Linked DNA regions of Homo sapiens: regions 2 and 3 are each linked to region 1. The links are contacts of gene promoters, found by promoter capture Hi-C in blood cells and fetal thymus (Javierre and others, 2016). All regions are on one chromosome and are shown on one strand. Each heading gives the region's core, a stretch centred on a gene start or on the middle of the fragment in contact. The rest is flanking DNA. Distances are from core to core; before and after follow the strand shown.

Region 1 (4,839 bases), core at 174-2,673:
AGGTTACCTGGTGCTTTTATTTCACAGCTCTTAAGATTCTTTCCTTCATCTTAACTTTAGATAACCTGATGACAGTGTGCCTAGGCAATGATTTTTTTTGTGATGAATTTCCCAGGTGTTCTTTGTGCTTCTTGTATTTGGATGTCTAGGTCTCTAGCAAGGCTGGGGATGTTTTCCTTGATTATTTCCCCAAATATATCTTCCAAATTTTAGATTTCTCTTCATCCTCAGGAACACTGATTATTCTTAGGTTTGGTCATTTAATATAATCTCAGACTTCATGGGGGCTTTGTTAATATTTTTTCATTCTTTTTTCTTTGTCTTTGTAGGATTAGGTTAATCCTACAAAGCTCTGAATTTCTTTCTTCTGCTTGTTCAACCCTACTATTGAGACTTTCCAGAGCATTTGTCTATAAATGTGTCCAATGTTTCCTGAAGTTTTGATTGTTTTTTCTTCATGCTATCTATTTTCTTGAATATTTCTCCCTTCACTTCTTGTATCGTTTTTTGGATTTCCTTGCATTGGGCTTCACCTTTCTCTGGTGCATCCCTGATTAGCTTCATAATTAACCTCTTGAATTCTTTTTCAGGTAAATCAGGGATTTCTTCTTTGTTTGGATCCATTGCTGTTGAGCTAGTGAAATTTTTGGGGGTGTTAAAGAGCCTTATTTTGTCATATTACTTGAGTTGGTTTTCTGGTTCCTTCTCATTTGGGTAGGCTCTGTCAAAGGGAAGGTCTAGGGCTGAAGGCTGCTTGCTGTTCAGATTCTTTTGTCCCATGGGGTGTTCCCTTGATGTAGTATTCTCCCCCTTGTCCTATGGATATGGCTTCCTGAGAACCAAGCTGCAGTGATTGTTATCTCTCTTCTGGGTCTAGCCACCCAGCAAGCATACCAGACTTTGGGCTGGTACTGGGAGTTGTCTGCAGAGTCCTGTGATGTGAACCATCTATGGGTCTTTCAGCCATGGATACCAGCATCTGTTCTGGTGGAAGTGGCAGGGTTGTATAATGGACTCTTTGAGGGTTCTTAGCTTTGGTGGTTTAATGCTCTATTTTTGTGCTGATTGGCTTCCTGCCAGGAGGTGGCGCTTTCCAGAGAGCATCAGCTGTGGTAGTATGAGGAGGAACTGGCAGTGGGCAGGGCCCTAGAACTCCCAAGAATATATACCCTTTGTCTTCAGTTGCCAGCGTGGGTAGGGAAGGACCAGGGCTAGGTGTGTCTCAACTCAGACTCTCCTTGGTTGGGCAGGTCTTGCTGCGGCTGCTGTCAGGAATGGGGATGAGGTTCCTGGGTCAATAGTGTTGTGTACCTAGGAGGATTATGGCTGCCTTTGCTGAGTCATGCGGGTTGTCAGGGAAGTGGGGGAAAGCCAGCAGTCACAGGCCTCACCCAGCTCCCACGCAATCCAAAGGGCTGGTCTCACTCCCACAGTGCCTCCCCTAACAGCACCAAATCTGTTTCCAGGCAGTGGGCAAGCAGGGCTGAGAATTGCCCCAGACTACCCACCTCCCAGCTGCAAAGGAAAAGGGCTCAGTTCTTCCCCCACCTGTGGAGTCTGCATGCTGGATTCCCGTTCTCCCCAGAGTTCTGGCCAGGAGGCTTCTTGCCTGGTTCAAATTGTTATGAAGTTCAGCTGGAGACTTCCTTCTCCCTGTGGCATTTTCCCCACACCTCTAGCTGCCCTCCTGAAGGATCCTGGTGGTGCCAGGTAAGAATGGCCTGCTTGGGGTCCCAGCGAGCTCCCAGGGCCTTTCCCACTGCTTCCTTTACCCTTGTAGTTCACTCGGCTCTCTAAATTGACTCAGCTCCAGGTAAGGTCGGAAACTTCTTTCGCAAACTAGGCCTTCAGTTTCCCCAGTGGGGGTGTGTGTTCGGGGGCGGAGGGTCTCCTTTTCCCACTTCCACAGTTGGGGCACTCACAGGATTTGGGGTGTCTCCTGGGTCCTGCAGGAGCAGTCTGCTTCCTTCAAGAGGGTCTGTGGGTCCTCTCGGCATTCCTGGTTTATTCCTGCAGTTGTTCTGGAGCTAAAATTCATGATGTGAGCCTCCGTATGCTGCTCTGTCTGTCCAAGTCGGAGCTGCAATCTGGTTCTGCCTCCTGTCTGCCGTGGTGATCCCTGTTGTAGTTTCTGTGTGTCTTCTTTTGAGAAATGCCTTGCGCCCTCCCGCTCTTCCAGGATAACTCAGGGCCTCCATCTCCTCCTTTGAAAACTGTAAGTGACATCTACCTCCAGGTCATATTTAATACCTTTCACAACTGGTATGTCCCAGGCCACTGAGAATAGAAGTGGATTATAAATAATTCATTAGGACTTACCGGTGCCAACCATCTGAATATCAGCCCTCTTGGGGTTAAATTAAGTGAGTTAAGTGAGAATTAAGTGAGGTAATGTGCTTGGCACAGTAATATGAAGTGGCTATAGGGTTATCCTCATGGTCCTGGATGCCCAGAACGTGAATGGTCTCACTGAGATTACATGAGGTGCCAGTGGGCAGCAGCCTGCGATGAGACTCTGTGAACACACCCAAGGCCTTAAAGGAGAGAGAATGCTGTGGCACTCTCAGAGAAGAAACCCAGGATGCTTTGGGGAAGAGGCTGGCAGCCTGGTCTTGTTTTCTGCACGTGGAGGCCTCTGGACCATGCACCTGACTATCAAGCCTGTACAGAAGGCAGAGGCGAGGCAGGAGTTAAGCGGTCTGTGAAGGAGGAGACCTGCTCTATTTCTCAGCTGTTGTTCTGTTGAAACAGGTGGATGAGTTTGAGCCTGAAAGGTAATAAGTAAAGGAGAAAGACTGGGAGCACTAGGCTCTGGGATGCCCTCTGCATGAGAAAGATGGGCACTAAACCTGTCTGAGGGGAAGGTGTAGACAGAAATAAACACGCCACAGCCTGGAGTCCAGAACCTTGAAAGTTTAATGAGAACAGTTAGTGAAGCACTGCCCTGTGATTCATCTCCTCACAAACAACACTTAAATCACGTAGGATCAGGGTAGACAACGATCATTTCATTTAGCTACTTAAAGGTTATTTGGAACTCTTAATAGCATGTTGTCAATAGGACCTGGCTTCTAAATCCAGGCAGATAAAAGTCCATTCGTTCCCCAGAGTGGAGGACTTAGGATCTAAGCCAACTCCATAAGCCTGATGCACCTGAATACGTGAGAAAAGGCAAAAGGAGATGGGAGTGAAGGGAGTTGAAGGGAGTTGCTGTGGTTTTGTGGGGTTTTTTTTTTTTTTACTTTTAAAAAATTATTTTATTTTTTCATGATCGCCTCCCAATAAGTCTTAGAAAAGTAATATTGAGGCCAGTGTTATTTTATTTTTTCATGATCGCCTCCCAATAAGTCTTAGAAAAGTAATATTGAGGCCAGGCGCAGTGGCTCACGCCTGCAATCCCAGCACTTTGGGAGGCCAAGGCGGGCAGATCACTTGAGGTCAGGAGTTTGAGACCTGTTCGAGCCTGGCCAACATGGCAAAACCTCATCTCTACTAAAAATACAAAAATTAGCTGGGCATGGTTGTGGGTGCCTGCAGACCCAGCTACTCAGGAGGCTGAGGCAGGAGGATCACTTGAACCCAGGAGGCAGATGTTGTAGTGAGCTGAGATCGTGCCTGTGCACTCCAGCCTAGGTGACAGAGTGAGACTCCATCTCAAAAAAAAAAAAAAAAAAAAGGAAGAAAAGTAATATTGAGAAAGGCAGTCACTGAATAGAAGGTTGCTGTTAGAGGGAATATTGCTATTGTGTTTTGTGAGCAAAGGAACATATTATACAAGCAGCAAGTTATAAGGGCTGTGCACACAAGGGCAGTTTAGTGTTATCAGAAAATAAAGCTTGCAGCCGAATGTGTCTGATGCATATTTAATAAGATCCTAACCAAAGGATATTAGAGCTATAAGGGACCTTGACGATTATCTAATTTAACCTTCTCATTTGCACCATGAGGGAAAGAAATGCAGAGATAACGTGTCCTGGGTTTACACAGTCTACAAGGGGTAGGGCAGGGATTGGCAATCGAGGACTCAGCCCCTCAACTGTCTGTCCAGGGCCATGCACTTCGTCATTACTGTGCTTCAGAGGCCTTGACTGTCCATAGAGAAACATGTCATGATTTTGTTGCAACTAGACAAAGCCCTCGGGGAGGCAGCTAGGGAAGGGAGAATTGAACAGAGCCAACATAGCTCAGGAGATCTTAAAACGCATGAATCTGGAAGCCAAAGGGCAGAGTCTTCCTCTTCCCTGAGAAGAGGTTTCTAGAGGTGTCAATTGCAACTGTATGTTAGCTATGGATAAAGGATTTGACAAAGCTCAATGAAAGCATATGTGAGAATCAATTGGCTGCATGGAATTTACAATACAGAGTATTATGTAGTTTACTGTTATTTGCTTATTGTGGGATATACATCATTTATAGCAGCAAAATGTATAATAAATGTATACATGTATAGGCATTTTTTTCAGAGAACTAGTTGTGAAACACCAGCATACCTCTGCTTACAGAGATATAAAGATAAATAAGATAACACAAATTTGAAGTGGATGAGAAAGAAAAAGGAACGAAAAGAAGAGGAACATATTAGAATAGGAAATAACAGTAATAGAAAATTTCATCTCCTTGTGTGCAGCTATATGACATGGTTGGCCACAGATTTTGTATCTAAGCTTCCTAGCAGATCTTGTATAAAGAACATTTGATTAGGTACTCAAGCTTTAGTGTTTTGGTGAGAAATTGTGAAGTTTCTCCTAAGCACAGTCCAGGAGGAATTTTATCCTGAGGATCTGGGGAGAGAAACAGTGTGTTTTTATAAAAGTCAGCGCTGTCCTTAGAGTAAACCAT
Region 2 (4,293 bases), core at 1,215-3,714, 340 kb before region 1:
TTTTTTTTTTTTTTGAGACAGGGTCCCACTCTGTTACCCAGGCTGGAATGGAGTAGCACCATCTCAGCTCACTGCAACCTCCACTCCCTGGGGTCAAGCGATCCTCCCACCTCAGCCTCCCAGGTAGCTGGGACTACAGGAGCGCACTAGCAAGCCTGGACAATTTTTGTATTTTTTGTAGAGACGGGGTTCCACCATGTTGCCCAGGCTGGTTTCAAACTCCTGGACTCAAGCCATCTGGTGGTCTTGGCCTCCCAAAGTGCTGGGATTACAGGTGTGAACCACCGCACCCGGCCTATATTTGGTACTCTATTGCAATCTATGAAATCATTTTGGTTTAATATTAAATACAATACTAAATTGAATTAGCTCACTTTTATGCTGGTTTTAGTAAAGTTCTTGTTGCTTTTGGCCTTTTACAGAGGTATCTCCTAATTGCCTGCTTTTAATGGCTATTCTAGGTATCAAAAATTCAGATTATATTAATAACTTTCTAAATAATGGTGTATAAAGTTAATTTCAGTTTTTTAGTACTTTATTCTTCAATTCTGGGTCTTCGTTACACAGCCTTAAAGGCCAGAAATTCATGTTTTCATTCTGGCAAATAGAGAACTGCAAAGGCTTTAACCCAGATTTTGGCATATTTCCACTCAATAAGCAACCCTTGCATATTGTGCTAAACATGGAAAGTAGATCTAGTTTTGAACATAAACTGTATTTTTAACAGATTTGCTGCAACCTGTTCCCTTGTCTCCAAGGTGCATAATTCCTATAAAATATGCAAATGACCAATATTCAGATCGTAAATAATTTGACCAGTAAAAGCAGCAATGCTTGGGTAGCTCAAGGAGATAGTCTCTCTGTTCTAAAGTACGACAAATCTGAGCTTTGTTGAATTAGTGGGGGAAGGGAATTCCAAAGATTCCAGTCATTTTACATTTTGTAGAGATAACGTGGCATAAGTGCTGTTATCATGACTTAATGTACTAGTATTTGTAACTTTAGAACTCTTGCCAATACTTCAAAAAGAACATATTTTTAACTTCTACAGATTTATACCCAAACAGCCAATATGAAGTAAACAAGAAAACAATGTATATTTCTCCTTAAAATATGTTTTTCTGAAAATCAAGGACCAAGGAAATGTTTTTCTGATCACAAAATTCTACAGTAGGATTAGCAGTTTAATGAAAATTCAAATGTACAAACTTTCTGCACATTTGCTTCTAAATTTTAGCTTTGTCTATATACAACCTAGAATATTTCTTTTTCTTTTTCTTTTTGAGACAGAGTCTCACTCTGTCACCCAGGCTGGAGTGTGCAGTGGAGCAGTCATGGCTCACTGCAGCCTTGACCTTCCAGGCTCAAGCAGTCCTCCCACCTCAGCTTCCCGAGTAGCTGGGACCACAGGCGCATGCCACCACGCCCAGCTAAGTTTTGTATTTCTCAGTAGAGATGGGGTTTCGCCATGTTGCCCAGACCGAACTACTGGGCTCAAGCGATCCTCCTGCCTCGGCTTCCCAAAGTGCTGGGATTAACAGGCATAAGCCACCATGCCTAGCCTAGAATGTTTACAATATCTTCCAAAACAATGTGAAAATTGTTAAAGTGATTTAAATAATTTTCTGTATTAGGCTAAGTATTTACCTTTCTCATTGTATTTGAAGGAAGTACACAGTAACATTTTGCATGCAGTTTCTATGCTAAAATTTTTAAATACCAGGATAATACATAGGTATTATAGTTTGGAAGATATAGAGATTAGCTGATGTTAACGTTAGGAAAGAAGGGTTTTTTTGGTTTGGTTGGTTGGTTTTTGTTTGTTTGTTTGTTTGTTTGTTGAGATGTAGTCTTGCTCTGTTGCCCAGGCTGGAGTGCAGTGGCATGATCTAGGCTCACTGCAACCTCTGCCTCCCGAGTTCAAGCGATTCTCCTGCCTCAGTCTCCCAAGTAGCTGGGACTACAGGCATGTGCCACCATGCCCGACTGATTTTTGTATTTTTAGTAGAGATGGGGTTTTACTCTGTTGGCCAGGGTGGTCTCAAACTCCTGACCTCGTGATCCGCCCGCCTCGGCCTCCCAAAGTGCTGGGATTACAGTCGTAAGCCACTGTGCCCAGCCTAGGAAAAAAGTTTTTTAAAATTAAGACTCTATATGTACACATTTCACTGTTTCAGAAAAGTGAAATGCAGTTTATAAGGAATTTTCTGTTGCCATTCAGAATAACAAAATATTCTTAGATCTTTTCAACCTAAAATGAGTAGTCCATTTTAATAATTATTCTACCTACCAATATCACTTTCCATGTAATAGAAATAAATTGAAATTCATAGGTAGAAGCTTTACGTTTAGACTTTATTTTCATTTGAATTGACTTGAATGTAAGGCCAGAGATTTTTGCAAGTTGGATTCTTTGACTAAGGATTCAAAATATTGATAGCTTTTAGCAGTTTGAGTGGCAGTAGGGATTGGAAATGTCATCTAACTCTTTTGCCATTCCACCAGAAGAGGGCAGCAAAGCAAACCAAGAGGAAATTTATGGGTCAAAAAATTTAGAAAAGTCACTCGAAATTCAGAGAGCTTAGTACAAAAGCTTGTTTGGGTGGCTTCAGTGTTTGGGAGTGTATATGAAGTCCCTACTGCCAGAGGCCCCATAGACCATTTTGCAAGAGGCTTGAGCAAATCTTAAAGCTTAAATATATGTTCCTGCAGACTGAGGCCTGTCAAATAAAAATCATTGACCTTGTTGAATGCTTTCCGTGTGCTAGACACTGCTAATCTCTGTATACATATTTATTCAAACTTCACAAAAACCTCATGAGGTAGACTGTCTTATGAATGAATCTGAAAAATACAGACTTTAGATAATGTTTATAAAGTCACACAAAGTAGTACAAAGCCACAATTTAAATCTAGCTCCTATTCTAAAATCCTCACTCTTAACTACTGACCCTATTATATGCTTCTACATTTCAGAGAAGATAGGAATACAGGCTTTAATGGATAAGAAACATATGTGCTAGTTAACTCAGTTGAAAAAGGGGCTAGTTAAGTCAAGGGTCACTGATAAGCTTTATTTTATTTTATGATTTATTTATTTATTTGAAACAGTCTTGCTCTGGCGCCCATGCTGGAGTGCAGCGGCATGATCTGTGGTCACTGTAACCTCTGCCTCCCAGGTTCAAGTGATTCTCCTGTCTCAGCCTCCCAAGTAGCTGGGAGTACAGACGCCTGACACCATACCCGGCTAATTTTTGTATTTTTAGTAGAGACAGGGTTTCACCATGTTGGCCAGGCTGGTCTCCAACTCCTCACCTCAAGTGATATACCCGCTTCATCCTCCCAAAATGCTGGGATTACAGGCGTGAGTCCAAGACACACACACACACACACGCACACACACGTGTGTATGTATGTATGTGTGTGTGTGTATATATATATATATATTGTGTGTAATTTTTTTTTTTGAGACGAGACTTTATGGCCAGGCTGGAGTGCAGTGGTGCAATCTCGGCTCACTGCAACCTCCCCCTCCCGGGTTCAAGCGATTCTCCTGCCTCAGCCTCCTGCGTAGCTGGGACTACAGTCACACACCACCGTGCCCAGCTAATTTTTTTTTTTGTATTTTTAGTAGAGACGGAGTTTCACCATGTTAGCCAGGATGGTCTCGATATCTTAACCTCGTGATCCGCCTGCCTCGGCCTCCCAAAGTCCTGGGATTACAGGTGTGAGCCACCACGCCCAGTCCCCAAGACATATGTTTTAAAGCCTATGAGTTCGCCAGGCATGGTGGCTCACACCTGTAATCCCAGCATTTTGGCAGGCCGAGGCGGGTGGATCACCTGAAGTCAGGAGTTAAAGACCAGCCTGGCTAACATGGTGAAATTCCATCTCTACTAAAAATACAAATATTAGCTGGGTGTGGTGGCAGTCCCCTGTAATCCCAGCTACTTGGGAGGCTGAGGCAAAAGAATCGCTTGAACCCGGGATGCGGAGGTTGCAGTGAGACGAGATCGCGGCATTGCACTTCAGCCTGGGCAAGAGAGCAAGACTATGTCTCAAAAAAAAAAAAAAAACAAACTTCTTGAAGCTGGGCGCAGTGGCATGTGCCTATCGTCCCAGCTACTCAGGAGGCTGAAGTGGGAGGATTATTTGCGCCCAGAAATTTGAGGCCACAGTGTGGTATATCATCTGTCAATAGCCACTGCACTACAAACTGGGCATCCTAGCAAGAACCTGTATCTCCAAAAAAAAAAAACTTGAAAAGTGATTAAGACTATCCACGTGTTTTTT
Region 3 (4,270 bases), core at 1,629-4,128, 360 kb before region 1:
CCATGTGCCACTGTACACAAAATCTTTAGCAATAAATAAATGAAGATTTTTTAAAAAACTTTAATAGCTATATCTTTATCTGTTTTGGAAAAATAACTAGTATTTCCAATGTTATTTCAGTTATTGCTGTTTAAGACATGACTGAGGTACACAGTTAAGTTTAAAATGAGTCAGATTTTAAAAGTGAATAGGACACATGTTACATAGTATGGCAAAAATCATGAAAGGTGTTAAGCAATTGAATCCTGTTTGGGAAACACTGGCTTAGGCGTTTCATAACGCAAATGACCAAAGCTTTCCTTTTTGGACACAAAACATCATCAGTAAGCTCAGTAGAGAAGTCACTTGCCAGCTGACTTCTCTACTGAAGATTCCCTTCAGGCTTGGAGAACTGAATGATGTCTGTAGAGTGACAGGAAAGTCATGGGAGAGAGTCATTTCTGTATACATTATCTTTGCTCAATAAGCATCATAATTCTTGATAATGAGTGGAAAAGGTTTCTTGCATTTTTTTGCATTTTTAAAAACTGATCTAGATATTTGTGACAGGAATTTTTAGAATGTCAAGAAAGCTCTCTGATTTTGTTTAGATGACATGTTAATTTGTCTAAATTTTTATGTGTTTAATTTAGATGTTGATGTTAGTGAAGATTCACCTCCTCCCCTACCTGAAAGAACTCCTGAATCGTTTGTGTTAGCAAGTGAACATAGTGAGTGTCTCTTTTGCTTTTACATTTACTTCATATTCTAATAATAAACTCCGAAAAACATACCTGATTTTAATCTATTAGCTATTGTGCTACATAATTAAATTCAAAAACAAGTAAATTGATGTTGACATGCTTTTAATTCTTTGTTTGAAAAATGCTTTTAAATTATATTTTTTACTTGCTAAGATCGATAGAAATTACTGCATTTATGTTAGATATCAGAATTCAATTCATTTAAATGTAATTATAGGCTGGGCATGGTGGTTCAAGCCTGTGATCCTAGCACTTTGGGAGGCCTAGGCAGGTGGATCACCTGAGGTCAGGAGTTGGAGACCAGCCTGGCCAACATGGTGAAACTCCATCTCTACTAAAAATATAAAAATTAGCTGGGCATGGTGGTGGACACCTATAATCTCAGCTACTTGAGAGGCTGAGGCAGGAAAATGACTTGAACCCGGGAGTTGGAGGTTGCAGTGAGCCGAGATTGCGCCATTGCATTCCAGCCTGGGCGAAGAGCAAGATTTCGTCTCAAAAAGTAAATAAATAAATAAATGCAATTACAAAGCCAGGTGCAGTGGCTCATACCTGTAATCCCAGCACCTTGGGAGGCTGAGATGCACTGATCACCTGAGGTCAGGAGTTCAAGACCAGCGTGACCAACATGGAGAAACCCCGTCTCTACTAAAAATACAAAATTAGCCAGGCGTGGTGGCGCATGCCTGTAATCCCACCTACTTGGGAGACTGAGGCAGGAGAATTGCTTGAACCTGGGAGGTGGATATTGCAGTGAGCCGAGATCACACTATTGCACTCCAACCTGGGCAACAAGAGCGAAACTCCATCTTAAAAAAAAAATGCAATTATAAGTGTATTTGCAATCTGGTGTATTTTCATTCATTAAAAATAGCACTTATTGACTCATGCCTGTAATCCTGCCACTTTGGGAGACCAAGGCGGGCAGATCACGAGGTCAGGACATCAAGACCATCCTGGCTAACACACTGAAACCCTGTCTCTACTAGAAATACAAAAAATTAGCTGTGTGTGGTGGCATGCACCAGTAGTCCCAGCTGCTCGGGAGGCTGAGGCAGGAGAATCGCTTGAACCCCGGAGGCAGAGGTTGGAGTGAGCCGAGACCATGCCACTGCACTCCAGCCTGGGCAACAGAGCAAGACTCCATCTCAAAAAAAAAAAAAGTAGCACTTATTTATGAAAACATTAATTGCTTTCCTTAGATTTAGGTCAGTAAACATTTCTGTTGGGTGGGCGTCACTGGATTGGTGTTAACTGAAAGACATTTAACACCACTGGAGTAGACTGAGCACATTGGCTCATACCTGTAATCGCAGCACTTTGGGAGTCCAAGGCGCGAGGATTGCTTGAGCCTAAGAGTTTGAGACCAGCCTGGGCAACACAGTGATACCTCCTCTCTTCTAAAAATAAAATAACTGTCCAGTTGTGGTGGTGGGCGCCTGTAATCCCAGCTGCTTGGGAGGCTGAGGCAGGAGAATTGCTTGAACCCAGGATGCAGAGGTTGCAGCGAGCTGAGACCACGCCATTGCATTCCAGCCTGGGCAACAAGAGCAAAAAACTTTGTCTCAAAAAATAATAATAACAACAAAAAATTAGCCAGGTGTGGTGGCATGTGCCTGTAGTCCTTGCTACTCAGGAGGCTGAAGAAGAAGGATTGCTTGATCCCTGTAGTTGGAGGCTGCAGTGAGCCATGATCGCACCACTGTACTCCAGTTTGGTAACAGTGAGACCCCGTCTGTGGAAGAAAAAAAAAAGACCACTGGAGTATCAGAACTGGGAGAAAGTGATGATACTTTAAAACATTGATAATATACTTCTCCCTATTAATCCTCTAAAAAAGAGTGCAGAAACAGCTTGATTGTATTTACAGTGTCTCATGCTCAGTGGAGGTGCTCACTTGTCTAAGTACATTTTACCAATATATTAATTTTGACTGATTTTTGTTTTGTTTCATTTGGTTTTCTTTTTATTTATTTATTTTTTATTTATTCATTTTTTTGAGATGGAGTCTCATTCTGTCGCCCCGGCTGGAGTGCAGTGGCACGATCTCGGCTCACTGCAAGCTCCACCTCTTGGGTTCATGCCATTCTCCTGCCTCAGCCTCCCATGTAGCTGGGACTACAGGTGCCTGCCACCACACCCGGCTTATTTTTTTGTATTTTTTTTAGTAGAGACAGGGTTTCACCGTGTTAGCCAGGATGGTCCATCTCCTGACCTCATGATCCGCCCACCTCAGCCTCTCAAAGTGCTGGGATTACAGGCATGAGCCACCACGCCCGGCTAATTTTTTTGTATTTTTTTAGTAGAGACAGGGTTTCACCATGTTAGCCAGGATGGTCTCCATCTCCTGACCTCGTGATCGCCCGCCTCAGCCTCCCAAAGTGCTGGGATTACAGGCGGGAGCCACCACGCCCGGCCTTGTTTTGTTTTATTTCGAGTTGGAGTTCCACTCTGTCACTCAGGCTGGAGTGCAGTGGCACGATCTGGGCTCAAGCTGTTCTCCTGCCTCAGCCTCCTGAGTAGCTGCGATTAGAGGCATACACCGTCACTCCCAACTAATTTTTTTATTAGAGATAGGGTCTCACCATGTTGGCCAGGCTGGTCTTGAACTCCTGACCTCAAGTGATCTGCCTGCCTCAGCCTCCCAAAGTGAATTTTGACTGATTTTAAGATAAATGTTAAAGAGCCAAGCACAATGGCTTATGCCTGTGATCCCAGCACTTTGGGAGACCAAGGCAGGTGGATCTCTGTTCCATTTGCCCTAGGAGTTTGAGACCAGCCTGGGCAACATGGCAAAACCCTGTCTGTATAAAATCAAAAATTAGCCAGGCGAGGTGGCATGCACCTATAGTCCCAGCTACTCAAGAAGCTGAGATGGGAAGATTGCCTGAGCCTGGGAGGTTGAGGCTCCAGTGAGCCGAGATCGCGCCTGGTCAACAGAGTGAGACCCTGTCTCAACAACAATTAAAAAGAATGTTGAAAGCAATGAAACGGTATACTTCAGTTGTCTAAGTCTGTCACGTTGTCTGTAGATTAAGCAGTATACTTCACTTGTCTGTCACATTATCTATAGACTGTAATACACTGATGACTGAATTTATTTACTTAGGTTTTGAAGGAAGGAAACAGAATGTTCTCGAATTAATAGAAACTACAATTTTTTTTTTTTAGAAACTTCAGAAATATGCTTACCCAGAAACTACAAAATTTTTGTGGAAGCGATAGTTTCTAAAATCTTTAGGATCTGTTTTTTGTATTACTTTAATGCAAAGAAATTTCAGAAATTCAAGGTGTTAATAACAATAAGATTTCATTTTTCTCAGATACACCTGTAAGATCGGAATGGAGTGAACTTCAAAGTCAGGAACGATCTGAACAAAAAAAGTCTGAAGTAAGTCCTTTTGGAATTGGAACAGTTATAGCTTAACATTTCTACTCTTTTGTTAACTAATCTTGCAGTTGTTGAAATAGCTGTCATCTTAAGATCGTTAAATATAGTTTGTAATTTTTGATCGGCATTTCTTATA

The links. The method cuts DNA at HindIII sites, captures the fragments that hold promoters and counts their contacts. A CHiCAGO score of 5 or more calls a contact.
Region 2: a contact is called between a fragment that was not itself captured here and the fragment with the promoter of DDX3ILA1 in region 1, in 5 of 17 cell types (total B cells, total CD4 T cells, activated CD4 T cells and 2 more). The highest score is 7.7, in total B cells.
Region 3: a contact is called between a fragment that was not itself captured here and the fragment with the promoter of DDX3ILA1 in region 1, in 2 of 17 cell types (naive B cells and total B cells). The highest score is 5.4, in naive B cells.

Annotation. Positions count from the first base shown.
Region 1 is chr7:77,988,968-77,993,806 of GRCh38, forward strand. It overlaps DDX3ILA1 (DDX3 interacting lncRNA 1), which reads left to right and starts at 1,424. Exons shown (of 3, transcript NR_183362.1): 1 at 1,424-1,710; 2 at 2,017-2,215. RefSeq lists an enhancer at 898-2,097. The HindIII fragment of the contact is 6,416 bases long and covers 1-3,833 here.
Region 2 is chr7:77,649,238-77,653,530 of GRCh38, forward strand. LOC105375363 (a long non-coding RNA gene) reads left to right here and starts at 4,104. Exons shown (of 3, transcript XR_927695.3): 1 at 4,104-4,293. The HindIII fragment of the contact is 253 bases long and covers 2,339-2,591 here.
Region 3 is chr7:77,631,716-77,635,985 of GRCh38, forward strand. PTPN12 (protein tyrosine phosphatase non-receptor type 12) reads left to right here. Exons shown (of 18, transcript NM_002835.4): 14 at 633-710; 15 at 4,067-4,134. Among named protein-coding and RNA genes, the nearest start is that of APTR, 62 kb to the right of the region's middle. The HindIII fragment of the contact is 5,173 bases long and covers 293-4,270 here.